2 separate regions of the Homo sapiens genome follow, and region 2 is linked to region 1. Evidence: promoter capture Hi-C in 16 types of primary human blood cells and fetal thymus (Javierre and others, 2016). All regions are on one chromosome and are shown on one strand. The core of a region is centred on a gene start or on the middle of the fragment in contact, and the rest is flanking DNA. Distances in the headings are between cores, read along the strand shown.

Region 1 (7,325 bases), core at 2,191-4,690:
AGGGTTTGGTGGACACTTGGAGGGACCAGGTCGGGGTGTGGCCTGGGAGGGGTGGCCAAGGTCCAGGGGTCAGGGTCACTTCGGGGAAGTCCAAGGGGCAGCGCGGAGCCACCGCTGTGGACATGGGAGGAGCCTACTAGCCAGCATGGCCCAAAGGAAGGAGGGGCTGAGGGTCAGAGGTCATGGGAGAGAAGAGGGAGTGGGGCAGACCCTCTCCCAAGGCCATGGGGTGGGGGAGAAACAGCGCCTTAGGGCCTGTCCTGATCCTCCTCCAGAGCCTGCTCAGAGTGGGAGCAGCCCCTCCTCCCTTCCCCTCCACCACCCAGGCGCAGGTGCGGCCTCTCCCTGGCCCGGGGACCTGCGTGAGGTCAGCCCTCAAAGCGCTGTCCCTTCTGGCTCACCTGGGCCCAGGGTGAGGCCCGACCCCACGGTGGACCCTGAGTCACTGCAGCTTCTGTGCCCAGCTCAGGAACAGAGCAGCCTTCAAGGCCAGGACTGGGGAGGGGCTCGGCTTTTCCGGCCCTTGGACGCCACTCAACTCTTCCTGCCCGTGTGTTGGCAAAGAACTAGCACGGCCTCTGAAGCACTGAAAAGACAAGGGCTACCTCTTTTCCAGAAGGTCCCAGAGCCCACCATGAGCAGGCAGTGTTTGGGAAAAGCCCGGGGAGGTGGCAGGGGCTCCGAGGAGCGGGGGATTCTAAGGGGTTATAGCTGCGCTGAGCCCCGGGCTCCTCAGAAGCCTCAGAAGGAGAAGGGGGCTCCTTTGGGGGCATCCTCCCTGCATCCGGGGTGTTGCAGGGTGACCTCCCGTAGTGCCAGCAGGGGCGGCCCCTCGGTCTGGCCAGAGAAGCCCAGCCACTGTCCCGTATGGTGGATGTCAGGCCCAGTGCCGTGTTTCCGAAGGAGGGAAGGGGTGAGAGGCAGCAGCCAGACACCCCGCTGAGCCCGCCCCGACCCTGAGCACGTGGGAGCTGGAGACGGTGTCACACACTCGGCCTGGCTTTGGGACCATCCCTAGGGCTTCTGTGGGGAGGAGGAAGGAGGAGCAGACGTGGAAGGGCTGCCAGGGCCCCAGCAGATGGGGTCGGGGGCGGAGGAGAGCCAGGAAAGTGTGGGCGCCTGGGGGAGTCACAGATGGAGGTCTGGTACCTAGAGCCTGGAGAACGACGGCTCTCGGGACAGAGGGCCTCAGACTCTGGCACACCAGCCGTACCTATGACAAGCTCCATGGGGGAAGAACCAGGCACCTGGATGCATGGCTGTGAGGCCCCCACCCCACAGGGGCCTCAGAGGCACAGGCTCCAGGCTCCAGCGGGGAGGGCGCTGCATCCCACCCTGGGAGCATGGCTATGAGGCCCCCACCCCACAGGGGACCCAGAGGCACAGGCTCCAGGCTCCAGCGGGAAGGGCCCTGCTCCCCACCCCCATCCCCCGCCTCAGGCTTCACTGAGATGGGCCCCGGGGACCCCGGGAGCTTTCTGTGACTGCTCGGCAATGGGTTCCCCAAGGCCTGGCACAGGCTTTCCTTAGAGCCAGGCTGTGGACCCAAAGCCTTGGGCCAAGTCTCAGGACCAGATGGGCGGCTCTGGAGAGGACCCCACAGTCCAGGGTGAGGCGCGCCCCGCTGGGGGCAGCGCTGCCTGTGGAGAGGACCCCACAGTCCAGGGTGAGGCGCGCCCCGCTGGGGGCAGCACTGCCCGTGGCCGTCTCCATCCATCTCACCCTGACGCAAGGCCGGCTTCCTCTGCGTCCAGTGGTCGGGGCCTTGGAGAGGCCAGCAGGGCCCGTGGGGGTCGCGTTTCTTCCCTGTGGCATCAGCTCTTTTCCCAGCAGGCCTCTTTGCAGCTGGATGCAGCAGCCAAGCCCTGGAGTCTTTGGAAAACTGTGGCCTGGCGGGGGCCCAGGCAATGCCACCTTACAGGGGACACCCACACAGGCGGTCCCGAGGAGGGGTGTGCTGCCGCCCTGAGCTCAGCCAGGCATCACCGTGGTGTCACCGTCAGCTCGGGTGGCACCTCCCGGGCTGCCCTCTCGGCTGCCACTTCTCATGAAACTGACAGGGACTGAACACGAATGATGTGGCTTATAGCTGGGTGCCCCCACCCTGACCACAGGTGCCACGCGACGGGAGCCACATTCTCTTCCTGATTCTAACTCCACGGGTACAGAGACAGAAGCTGCCATCTTTAGAAATAAAACTTTTTTCTAACTACAAAATAATACAGTTTAATATAGGAAATGTGGAAAATGGGGTATTCGGGGTGGATATTGAGAAGAGAGAAGCAACACCAATTCTATGTGCGAGACGCTGGCACTTCCCAGCGTAGCCTTGTGTTCCTGACCCTGGGGTGGCCTGAGCGTGGCCTGTGGGGCCCGTGTCCAGGTGCGGAGGGGGCCCTGAGTCGTGCGGGGCAAGTGGTCAGGGCCCCAGGCCCAGGCTGCCTGGAGCGAGATGACTGGGCCTGGCCCCTGGGGACTTGCTCTGACAAAACCCCCCGGTCCCCACTCCTGAGCCCCTGCAGGAGCAGCCCTGGGAACATGGGGAGCAGCTCCTTCTGCCTATGTGCTCCGGACTCAGGAACTCTGGAGAGAAGAAACACAACCCCACAGGCCCCGCCTGCCTCTCCTGCAGTCTTGAGGCCCCAGGGAAAGCCCCCACTGCAGGCAGGGGGTGGGTGCCCGAGCGAGGGTGTGGGGTGAGCAGGGTCCTGGGCATGTCAGGGCTGCGTGGGACTCCAGCGGGCCGGGTGCCTCTCGCCCTGCAGGACGTGGCTGGCCTGGTCTGCCCCCAGCTGAGCCTCACCTGAGGGAGAGCTGGGGTGGGCCGCCTCGTTTACGACCGTGTAGTCGTCTTTTGCACACAAAGCCATGTGAGTCCGTACGTGAGTCCTGTGGAAAGACAAGACATGGAATAGGAGTGACGTCCGTCCCCAGGCATGAAGTGGAGAGCATCACGCTGTGTGAGTTAAACACTGGCCAAGCACGGTGTGAGTCGGAGCCGGGGACCTGGCCAGATGAGGGCTGCGTGCAGCTTTCACACCCCAGGCACGTGAGCACCGCCAAGCCCAGCCTCAGCCAGCAGCTGCTCTGCAATGTGGAGTCACCAGTGGCCCCAAGGATGGCAGGTGGGGGTGGCCTTGGGACTGAATTAGGCCGACACCCAAGGCCTCTGTTCCTTCCCGTCCCTTCTCTCCCTTCGGAGGATCAAATGAGAGTTTCTAGGAAAGAAAACATGGCCAGGCCCTCCTCCAGCGCCCAGGCAGGGCTCGAGCGGACGCCCGTGTGACCCCCACATCCCTTCTACCCCTGTAGCTCTCTGACTCTGATATCCCAGTGGGAGGAACGAGGAGGGGACGGGTGAGGAGGAGGAAGAGGAGGAGACATGAGGGTTAGGAGGAGCACATCCTGAGTTTGTGAGGCTTCACTGACCTCTGGCCTCACAAACACACACAGGCCTGAGCTCCGGATATTTCTCCTGTTCTGGAGACAGTGAGAAGTGAAAGAGAAATGGCTGCCCCTGCACCACTTACCGCGAAGGAGGCTCAAGGCTGGGGGGCCCCTCTGCCTTCCAGTGACCGCCCGTGTCACATCCTGACCCGCTCAGCAGGTGAGCTGCAGGCTGCCAATGCACTGGTGCTACTTGCCCCTCGGTGTCTGGGTGGCTTTTGTGTGGCTGCGGCAGCTTGTGGGCCCACATCCCAGGCACGGGTGGTCCTGAAGGTGCTGGGGAAGGGACATGCCCTGGGAGGCAGGATGTCCACACTAAGTGAGTTGCTCGCCTCCACTGGAGGAGAGACGGCCAGAGGCATGGATGCACGCTGACTCGTGGACGGCCGCTGTTTGACGAGACCATCAAGGAGGGAGGAGCACCCGTGGAAAGGCGTGGCAGGGTGGTCGGGGCAGAGGTGTACATCAGCCTATCCAATGCTCACGGCTGGAGGACGCCGCGCCCTGTGAATGCTCACTGAGGACCATCCCGGGCACTGGGGCTCTCCATGTGAGAATGGACAATATGCTGCCTTCCCAGCTGCCCCATCCTTCCTGCGAGAGCTTGGGGATGGGTGGCCACAGTGGCACTGGGGAGAACACGAGGGCTCCCCAGCAAGCGTTTTCTCTCATGGAGGTGGCTCTGGTCACAGCGTCACTGCAGGGCGCAGCCACGGTGGCGGCCAATGGAAACTGGGCTCTTCTTTTTCTTTTTTTTTTTGAGACAGAGTCTCGCTCTGTCACCCAGGCTGGAGTACAATGGCAGGATCTCGGCTCACTGCAACATCCACCTCCCGGGTTCAAGTGATTCTCCTGCCTCAGCCTCCTGAGTAGCTGGGATTACAGGTGCCAGCCACCACGCCCGGCTAATTTTTGTATTTTTAGTAGAGACAGGGTTTCACCATGTTGGTCAGGCTGTCTCGAACTCCTGACCTCGTGATCTGCCCGCCTTGGCCTTCTCAAAGTGCTGGGATTACAGACATGAGCCACCGCGCCCGGCCAAAACTGGGCTTTTCTACGGTGGGGAGAGCAGAGCTATTCTCTCTGGGGTGGGTGCTTGTCTGGGACTTGTCACCATCCCTTACTCCAGGGCTGTCTTCAGCACTGTCGCCCACAGTCTTTCCGAACGCCTTATTCAGATGTTATAATTTCCCACACGATGTTCCTGACCAAGAAACGCATTTTACAGCAAAGGGGTGAGGAACGGATCTGTGGCCATAGGATCCCAGAGCCGTGTCCCCGCCACTCAGGAGCAGGCGACCTGAGCAGAAGGGCTTGGCGCTGGTGGGCAGTGGGAGCCCTGCCATGGGCGGCCCGAGGGGTGGTGGGATCCCCGCCGTGGGCAACCCCGGGGGCGGTGGGAGCCACGCTGTGGGTGGGCTGGAGGCCCTACTGGGTGTGCTACCGGAAGGGAGGTCCTGACTGTGAGTCCATGTTCCTGGCATGTTGAACAAAGAATTGAGCAAAACTCACAAAACGACAAATAACAGAGTAATGAAAGCGCAGATCCTTTGCAGTGAACATGCACTCCACAAGGGGGGACGGGACTCCAGCAAGTGCTCCGGAGCCCCCATTAGGGTTTGTATTGGGCTAAAAGAATTTGGTAACACCCCCAGGTGCCCTTTCCAGGTCTCTGATTGGCTGCATCCTATGAAGACTGGCCTGCGGCCAATCAGAGGCTGAGGTGGAGACTCCTGTCTTGTTTTCCCAGGAAGGAGGCTGCGGCCTGTGTGCCGCCCAATCCAGCCAGGAACCGGTGGCACCTGCTGCCCTCCGGCTTCTGCCTTAGCCCTCGGTGACCCCATTCCCTGTTCTCCTGCCTCAGGTGCAGGGCGATGGTTCTCAGTCAACGCTGGGGCCAGAGCCGGGGCTGGGGCCGCTCGTTCTGCACAGGTCCCGGGAGTGGCGGTGAGCAATGCTCTCGCTCTCAGCGACCCACGTGCAAAGCGCTCCCTGCGCCCCCGACCCCGCAGCTTTGGGCTCTGCTGACTTCAAGGCTTCATTCTTCCTCCAGGAGAACACAGCAGGTCCCTCCGACCGCAGTCGGCCTCTCCAGCCTGCCATGCCTCTGGCCATGAGGCGACCCGCTGGAGTGATGGATTCCCGTCACTACCACCCACAGGGCGAGGGGGTGCATTGGTCTGCTTGGGCCGCTGTAACAAAATGCCACAGCCTGGATGAGTGACTGACATTGCTTCCCCACCGTTCTGGAGGCTGGAGGCCCGAGATCGAGGTCCCTGACACTATTTCAGTGATGCCAGAGCCCAGGAGGAGTCGACCAAGCCCCAGCGTGGCCATAAGCACCTTCGCAGGACCACGGAGTCGCTGCAGGTGTTCAGCCCTGTTGAGAGTGGGAGTCGGTGTCGATGGTCACAGCTCAGTAACTCATCGTCACCAGCGAGTACCACAGAGCAGACACAACTGCACTTCTCTGTAGAGCCTCCAGTCGATACTGAGAGCCACTGGGGCGTCTGACACCCAAGGGTGCAGACATTCACTCCAAGTCCAGAGACCGCGCCCTTTCTAAGGCCCTGTCTCACAGTCGCCCCGTGCTCATTGTGCCGGATGTTTCCACAGCCACAGAGACGGTGCGTGAAGGTGGGTGATTCAGGGTGGGCACTCCAGGTACAGAACCCAGAGGTGCTTCCCGCCCCCCTACCAGGCCTTACCCCCGCCCCCTCCCTCAGCAGCAGCAGGGTTGGGCCAGGGCCTTCCTTGACATCCACCATGTATTCCAGTGATAGTTTAAGTAGATCCCACACTAAATGGCCCACTAAAGACACGATTTTGCCTCGGGAAATCTTTCTGAGTTTAGTCCACATGCTGATTTCATGTTCAGGGGGTGAATGTTAAAATCTCTACTTAACAAGGTGAGGTGCAGCCTAGTGCATATGACTGACAGAAACGTGAAGCCACAGTGGACGCCTGGATGAGACACAGATCACCTTCCAAATCTGAGTGTGGCCTTGGGACCAACCAGGCAGCCAGGGAGAAGGCAGAGACCAGAGGGAACCCAGGTGCCCTCAATCCCAGCCTCCTCTATCCCAGCCTCCCAATCCCAGCCTCCCCAATCCCAGCCTCCTAATCCCAGCCTCCTCCATCCCAGGACCCCCACTCCCAGCCTCCCGATCCCAGCTTCTCTGATCCCAGCCTCCCCTAAAACCCAGACTCTATGAATCCCAGCCTCTGAGGTGGGAACTGTTAGTAACCCCACTCCATGGACAAGAAAGCTGGGGCCTGGCGAGGCTAACAGACTATCCTGATGGTGTGAGGGAGGGATCGGCCTCTGAGGGCTGCTTCCACCCATCTCACCAGTGGCTGCAGGCTCCAGGCGCCACTTTCCTTGAGTCTATGTTCTTTCCAAGCATCCTGCAGCTCCAGAAGCTCTGGAGCCGCCAGCACTGAGAGAAGCGATGGAGCTGCATGCAGGGTGAGTGTAGGACCGGGCGGAGCTGCTCTGTGGCTGGCGGGCACATTCTTTGTCAACATGAGCATCTCTCACTGTTCCTAGACCCCCTGGCTCCCCAGCTTCCTTGGAGCCAGGCGTGGCCACAGGAAAATGTTTAGGTCAATGACAGGTGAGCAAAAGTGTGAATACAACCTCCAGGAGTTTTCTTAAAGGAAGGGACAGGCCCTTCCCCTCCTCATGTCTCCTTCTGGCTGCCTGGAAGGCACATGTGAGGGCTGGAGCCTGAGCAGCCACCTTGGGCCATCAGGAGGAAGCCTGTGCTGCAATGGTAACTCAGTGACTTGGCGAGACTCACAGAGCCTGCATTCCCGACACCTGGTGCCCTATACCAGCCCCGGGCATATTCTTAGTGTGGGAGAAAAATCAGCTT
Region 2 (7,325 bases), core at 2,656-5,155, 240 kb before region 1:
ATAGCATGGATGGATGGATGGATGGATGATGAATGGATGATGGATGGGTGAATGGGTGGATGAATGATAGGTAGGTAGCTAGATAGGATGGATGGATGGATGGATAATGGATGGATGACGGGTGGGTGGATGGATGATGGGTGGATTGCTGGATGATGGATGTTTGGGTGGATGGATGAATGATAGGTAGGTAGCTGGACAGCATGGATGGATGGATGGATGATGGATGGGTGGGTGGATGGATGGATGGATGGATGATGGGTGGATTGGTGGATGATGGACAGATGGGTGGATGGATGAATGATAGGTAGCTGGATAGCATGGATGGATGGATCGATGATGGATGGGTGGATGGATGGATGATGGATGGGTGGATGGATGGATGATAGGTAGGTAGATAGGATGGATATACAATAGGATGGATGGAGATAGATACATACACACACATGTACTTCATATATTCATAGATGATAGACAGTTGATAGATTATAGAGATGACAGATAGATGATAGATTGGTGATGGATTGATAGATGACAGTGATAGATGATAGATAGATAGATGATTGATTGATAGATAATAGATGATGGATTGATGTATAGTGAAGAGAAATCAGGAAAGAAATGGAAGGAAAGGACAATTGCAGGTCCTGGAGTGAAAGTGCATGAGGTGAGGCCCAGGGAGGCAGCCATGGGCACTGGCTCTGGTGTGGCACTGGGCAGAGGCCTGAGCTGCACACACAGATCAGGGTGAGGAGGAGGCAGGCGCTCCCCTGTGACACCTGATCCAGCCTGCAGCTACCTGGCCAGGCAGGTGGCTGATGACCAGCATGGGAGCCACATCAGGGTATGAGCCTCTCCACCCACTGCCCACCCAGCCACTCTCGGCTTGGCTCCTCCCCTCATGCTGAAACACTGGCCACCTGCAGAGTCCTGACTGCGGGGCCTGGCCATCTGCCTCCAAACACACTGTCCCAGGAACTGGGGTTGCCTTGAGGCTCTGACATGCTGCCCAAAGGACAGAGGGCCCCGCCCCCTCTGCAGCACCCAGTTCCCTTGCTCAGTCAAGCTCAGGCAAGCTTGACCTGGGACCTGGGATGCCCTGAGACCCACCTGGCCTCCCCAGCAGGAGCATCTGGTGTCTCTGCCTCAGCATCCTGGCCCACAGGCCTGTACCATGGGCTCCAGGGACTTGCAGGAACAGCCCTAACTGACCAGTCCCTCAAATGCCTCCAAGGGGGGGTTGGCTGCTCCTTCTCCCCCATCCAAGGCCCAGGGAAGGGCAAGGTGGGCATCTGAGTCACTGAATGGTCTCCGCAGTGCCCTCACCTTAGCAGGTTGTGGCTGACTTTTTAAAATACCACAATGGTCCAATCGTGGACCCACCCACCTTTCCTTTCACGTCCAGAGTTGTGGGTGCCATCCACCGAGTTGGGCAGGCACAGCACCAGTGTCTAAGCTGCAGGTGGGCTCCTGGCCATGCCCAGGTGCCACTGTGCACCTGTACTGCTCATGTTTTGGGAAGGATACAAAGCAGGCATTGCTGGTGTGCGTCCAATCAGGACACCATCATCATGTAGCATGTGGATGGGTCCATGCCTTTCTGAGGGTTATCAGGGTGCTGCCATCATGCAGCATGTGGATGATCCATGCTGTTCTGAGGGTTGTCAGGGCGCCACCATCATGTAGCCTCAGGATGAGTTTATGTTGTTCTGAGGGTTATCAGGGTGCCGCCATCATGCAGCTTGTGGATGATCCATGATGTTCTGAGGGTTATCAGGAAGCCGCCATCATGTAGCCTGTGGTTGAGTCTGTGCTGTTCTGAGGGTTTCAGGGCACTGCCATCATGCAGCAGGGCGCACATGGGATGGGGGGACACACTCAGGGGGTTGTGAAGCTGGACCCTGATCAAGGGAGGATGGAGACCCCGCTAGGGCTGGTGTGAGTGTGGATAAGTCCATGCTGTTCTGAGGGTTATCAGGGCGCCGCGGTCATGTTGTGTGTGGATGAGTTCATGACTTTCTGAGGGTTATCAGGGTGCCACCATTATGCAGCATGTGGATGAATCTGTGCTGTTCCGAGGGTTGTTAGGACGCTGCGGTCATGTCATGTGTGGATGAGGCCGTGCTGTTCCGAGGGCTATTAGGACGCTGCGGTCATGTTGTGTGTGGATGAGTCCGTGCTCTTCTGAGGGCTATTAGGACGCTGCGGTCATGTTGTGTGTGGATGAGTCCGTGCTGTTCCGAGGGCTATTAGGACGCTGCGGTCATGCCGTGTGTGGATGAGTCCGTGCTGTTCTGAGGGCTATTAGGACGCTGAGGTCATGCTGTGTGTGGGTGAGTCCGTGCTGTTCTAAGGGTTATTAGGACACTGTGGTCATGTTTTGTGTAGATGAGGCCGTGCTGTTCCGAGGGTTATTAGGATGCTGTGGTCATGCCGTGTGTGGATGAGTCCATGCTGTTCTGAGGGCTATGGAGCAGGGCACCTCTGGTTCTGTGGAATCGCTGCCTTGATACTCCATGGGGAATCCCAGATCAATGAACACAGACAGCCCCCTGCTTCTCAGGCTCTTCCAGGCCGCTGGCCCGGGAGGGTTCACTTCCTGAGGCTGCATCTTCCACCAGTCGTCTGCTGCCATTTACTTCTTGAGGATGGTGTTGAGTTTAGAGGCCTCAGTGTGGGGCTGGGACAGGAAGGGTGCTCAGGTCCTTTGCCTGTGGCCTGCGTTCTCCTGGGACAGCCTCTCACCGCCCTCTGGCTCTGCAGGTTTGGATTGACGCGGCCACCCAGGTGTGCTTCTCCCTGGGCGTGGGGTTCGGGGTGCTGATCGCCTTCTCCAGCTACAACAAGTTCACCAACAACTGCTACAGGTGAGCCCCTAGCAGGGCCAGGCAGGGGCCTCATCAATACTAGGGAGAGGTCGCTGACTTCCAGAAATAGGGTGTCCCTGGATGAGAACAGGGCGGATCCACTGAACCCGCAAACCTGTGAGCTGCGTGGCCTTTCAGACAGAAGCGACAGCGAGGCAGCTCCCAACACGATTTTGATTTCAACTTTAAAGAAGGCACTGAAGCCAGTGGGTGTGTCGCCTCCTGGGAGGGACCTGCCTAGGTTTGACCTGCGGCCAGATTCCCCACTGAGGGCCCCAAGTGGCAAGGCCAGCCCCTCCCTCCACAAGGACACACCCTCTTCCCTCACACCAGCCCCGGGGGGTCTCTGTCCTCCCTCGCTCAGGGTCCAGCTTCACAACCCCCTGAGTGTGTCCCCCCATCCCATATGCACCCCGTGTTACTTACTGGCAGGCACCTGAAGCCCCGTGCCGGACCCCAAATCCTTCTAAAAACAGAAACAGAATTTTATCCGGGATCTGCTTGCTTTGACCTTTATGGACTTGTGCTTACTTTCTTTCACATCATGAGGCTAGAAACACGGTAAAAATACAAGGACAGTGTGTGCAGCAGAATGGCCAGGCAGACCACAAGCAGGCTTCACTGAGAGTGGGCGCTGGAAGGCAGGTCCTGAGGCAGCGCCTGCCCGCAGCCCACCTGCGTCCACCTGGGTCCAGGTGCTCTGCAGATGAAGTGTGTGGTCCTTCCACCCCAGTGACAGGCCACACAGGAACCCAGGAGGAGGACGCTGGTGCCCTGACCGACCCCAGGACCCTCCCTCTTCGTCCTCGGCTTGCCTCCAGCTCTCTGGTTTCTCAGCCCTCAGAGTGGGGCCCCCAGGCCCGCAGCACCAGCGCCCTTGGGAGTTCATGGGAAACACAGCCCCCGAGACCCCATGAGACCCGCCCAGTCAGGATCTGCATCTTAGCGAGGTCCCCGGGAGGTGTGTGCTCCTAGAGCTTCTGGAAGATCTGCCCTGGGTGAGGTGTCCACAGCAAGACTCGCGGGGCACAGGGGTGGCCGTCTGTTCTGCCCACCCTGAGCCTTGATGGCTGAGCCTTGAGCAGCTCAGCTAGGGGACCAAGGTGGCCCAAGGACAGCTCTGCCAGGCTGCTAAGGAGCTGGCCGTGCTCACTGGGAAAAGTAGCCCCTCCGAAGACCTCCCGCCCCCTTCCCCAGACACAGTAAATTAAGAATAATGACTGGAAAATTGCAGCTGCTGCAGCTCAGCTGGTTCCTGAGACGGCGTGTCTTGTTCTTACAGGGACGCGATTGTCACCACCTCCATCAACTCCCTGACGAGCTTCTCCTCCGGCTTCGTCGTCTTCTCCTTCCTGGGGTACATGGCACAGAAGCACAGTGTGCCCATCGGGGACGTGGCCAAGGACGGTGAGCCCCTCCTGCTGCACCTGGGCCTGCTCCGTGTAGCACCAGCGCCGAGCTCTCAGCAAAGCCTTTTTCCTTGTGAAAGAGGAAGGAGACGCATGGGCCCTGAGCGACTTCAGTGAGAGTTGCTGCCTCACTCTTGAAGGATGGTGGTACACATCCCAGTACAGACCTGCCCCCACCCAGCGCCTTCCCCGCCCTGACCCTCCAGGCCCCCCACCCAGCGCCTTCCCCGCCCTGCCCCTCCCGGCCCCCCACCCAGTGCCTTCTCCGCCCTGCCCCTCCAGGCCCCCCCACCCAGTGCCTTTCCTGCCTTGTGCCTCTCGGGGCCTCCACCCTGGGCTGGGGAACCTCAAGCCCAAATGCAGCTGAGCAGCATAGTTGGTGCCTCAGTCCCTCGACTGCTCCCTGCAGATGCCACATGAGGCTGCCCCACCAGGGTCTGGCGTAGATGCTGTCACTGAGGGCCCTCTAGATGTTTGCTTGCCACGCGGTGTGGGAACATGCAGCTCAGGGAAGGGGAGGAATGAGCTGTTCCAGCAACACCTGGAGGCAGGCTGGGATGCCGCAAACATCAGCTTGGCCACAGAGCAGCCGGGAGATCCCTGGGGCCTCCAGCACAGGGTGTCCCTGCCCGCTCCCCAGGCCGACGCATGACGCTGAGTGTCCCTGCACGCCTGGAGTTGTCTCCGAGAGGGTGGGGAGGGGTCCAGGTCTCGGGCAGGCACAGGTGAGTGGTGGGGGGAGGCCTTGGCCACAGCAAGAAGTGTGCCAGGCAGGATGGAGCCGGCAGGACGGGCACAGATGCAGGGGCTGAGAGTGGGCCCAGGCACTTGGGGCCACGTGCCTGGCTCCGGTGCTTGCAGTGGAAAGCTGTGGCGTTGGCAGCCCTAACTTGGGCCAACCGAGAGCTCCAGGGAGTCCCAAGGCTTCTCGGTCTCTGTCAGCCAGCAGAGCCCCCGCCTGCCTCCCGGCCTGCTCTGCCACATGGATGTGGAGGAGGCCCTTTCGCTCCAGACACGGGCCTGGGTTGGGTGGGCTCCCATGCTGCGTCCCCATCCTTGCTTCCTCTGGACTGTCTTCTCCGGGGGTGGGGTGGGGGCACTACATTTGTGAGGAATGATTGTGCTCAGAAAAGCCCCTGTCCCGTGTGGGTGTTGTTGCTGACTGATCTCTGCCTGGGTGTTGAGGCTCAGTGAAGGCGGGGAGCGACAAGCACCAAGCGGGGGCAGCCTTGACCGCACCTGAGTCTCACAGAGTGGGGCACTAGGACCCTCGCACCGCAGGTAGGAACACGCTCAGAGACCTGAAAGGGCCCACTCCATGCTTGCAACAGAAAGCCAGGGTCGGGGCTGGAGCCACAGCTCAGAGGTGGGCCTCCTAAGCCCATGTTCTTTCCACTAGGAAAAAAAATTCAGTCAAAGCGGGAGAAAGGGAACATCTGCAAATAAATGCAGAGCAGTGAAATTTACTCGGTGCCGCATTTATGCCTTTTCTTCATTCTTTTTGCCCTTTATTATGATAACGAGCATAGTTTGCAAAAACCTCTATTAACCCCTGAAAATAAAGTTGAATGTTCTTCTGTGCATTTCATGACAAGCAAAGTAAATGTCATTTACAGCCTTAATTCTCAAGAAAATAGGGTGAAATGTTAACTTAGGTACAGAAACGAAGGCACGGGTGTTGACATTACATTCCCTGAGCTGATGAATATCTTCCCAGGCTCCTGGCTGGTACCATCTAAGCCCCGGAACATCTCAGGCGAGCCTGCCTCCCCCACCCCACGCGGAGGCTGTCCCCATCCACCAGGGTATCTGGGAGCTGCGAGAGCCCAGGTCTGACCCCGCTGCTTGGCTGATAGTGAGGCCCCTGAAAGACCTTTAGGAACGGCCCCTGGCTCTGGCCTTTGATTATTTAAAAGGCCAGGCGCAGGCCTATTCCTGCAGGCTAGGGCCAGACACGTGCCTGCTGAGGACAGGGGACTCTGTTGCAGGCAGATTGGGCTTGGGAGATGGTGCCAGCCAGTGGAGGATGCAAGGCTTCTGAACTGGTCAAAGGTCAATTGCCTATGGGACTGGTTTTTACTTTGGGGTCATCAGAGACCAAACTGCGTTGACTTTTGGTCGCCTGCCTGCCACACTCTCGTCCCCTCCACCTCCATCCGAGTCTGCCTGCTGGTAGCAGGAAGCACGTGTCGTTTCCCGAGAGAGCTGTGGGGGAACACCTCCTCCGCCTTTGCCATGCCGCCCTCAGCCTGGCGTGCCCCTCGCTTGCAGGGATAGCAAGGTAGCAGGTTTGTCTCTTATCTCCGAAGCCACCATCTGGGCCCCTGTATCCATCAGGATGTGCTGCTCCTCTGAGCCCTCAGGGCCCCAGCTGACAGGAGCCTGTCTCAATATGGCCTGCGGGACCCCGTGGCAGGGGAGGTGGTGAAGGAGCCACACACTCCTCTACCAAGCTTCACTCGCAGGGACCCGCTCACTGTGGGTTCACAGCACATTGGCCAAGTGCAGCCACGTCTAACCTCACGGGAGGGTGGGAGGACCTCAGCTTCCTCATGTGCCTGGAAGGCGGAGGTCAGGAATGTATCCCTAAATGTTTTGCTAATTTTAGAAATTAGGCTACTAAATAGTGTGGACGTGTGTGATTTGTGTGTGTTTGTGTATGTTTGTGCATGCACGTGCATGTTTCTGTTTGTGTGCGTGCATGTGGATGTGTTCTTGCATGTATGAGTTTGAATGCACAAATGAGTGTTCGTGCATGTGCGCGCATGTGTCTGTGTGTGTATATTGCATGGTATGTGTGTCTGAGTGTGTATGTTGCATGGTATGTGTGTCTGAGTGTGTATGTTGCATGGTATGTGTGTCTGAGTGTGTATGTTGCATGGTATGTGTGTCTGAGTGTGTATGTTGCATGGTATGTGTGTCTGAGTGTGTATGTTGCATGGTATGTGCAGGAAAAACTAACTCGAAGGACATTAGCAGATGTCCCTGGGATGAAGGGCAGGACCAGCCTGGAAGCCCCTCCTGCTCCTCCTTGTTTCTGCCCCTTCCT

What was found. Contacts are between HindIII fragments. The CHiCAGO score rates a contact against its expected background, and 5 or more counts as called.
Region 2: a fragment that was not itself captured here is called in contact with the fragment with the promoter of TERLR1 in region 1 in 2 of 17 cell types (non-activated CD4 T cells and total CD4 T cells); the score reaches 5.4 in non-activated CD4 T cells.

What each region holds. Positions count from the first base shown.
Region 1 is chr5:1,174,720-1,182,044 of GRCh38, reverse strand. TERLR1 (TERT regulating lncRNA 1) reads left to right here and starts at 3,440. Exons shown (of 5, transcript NR_109911.1): 1 at 3,440-3,607; 2 at 5,501-6,084; 3 at 6,357-6,916. LOC124900189 reads left to right here. Exons shown (of 8, transcript XM_047417960.1): 2 at 1,834-2,671; 3 at 2,766-3,607; 4 at 3,791-3,997; 5 at 5,501-6,084; 6 at 6,357-6,916. The coding sequence starts at 2,239. The coding sequence ends at 3,286. The HindIII fragment of the contact is 15,637 bases long and covers 1-7,325 here.
Region 2 is chr5:1,411,640-1,418,964 of GRCh38, reverse strand. SLC6A3 (solute carrier family 6 member 3) reads left to right here. Exons shown (of 15, transcript NM_001044.5): 7 at 2,764-2,867; 8 at 4,150-4,274. Among named protein-coding and RNA genes, the nearest start is that of SLC6A3, 30 kb to the left of the region's middle. RefSeq lists enhancers at 2,253-3,225, 3,226-4,198, 5,905-6,405. The HindIII fragment of the contact is 5,653 bases long and covers 1,079-6,731 here.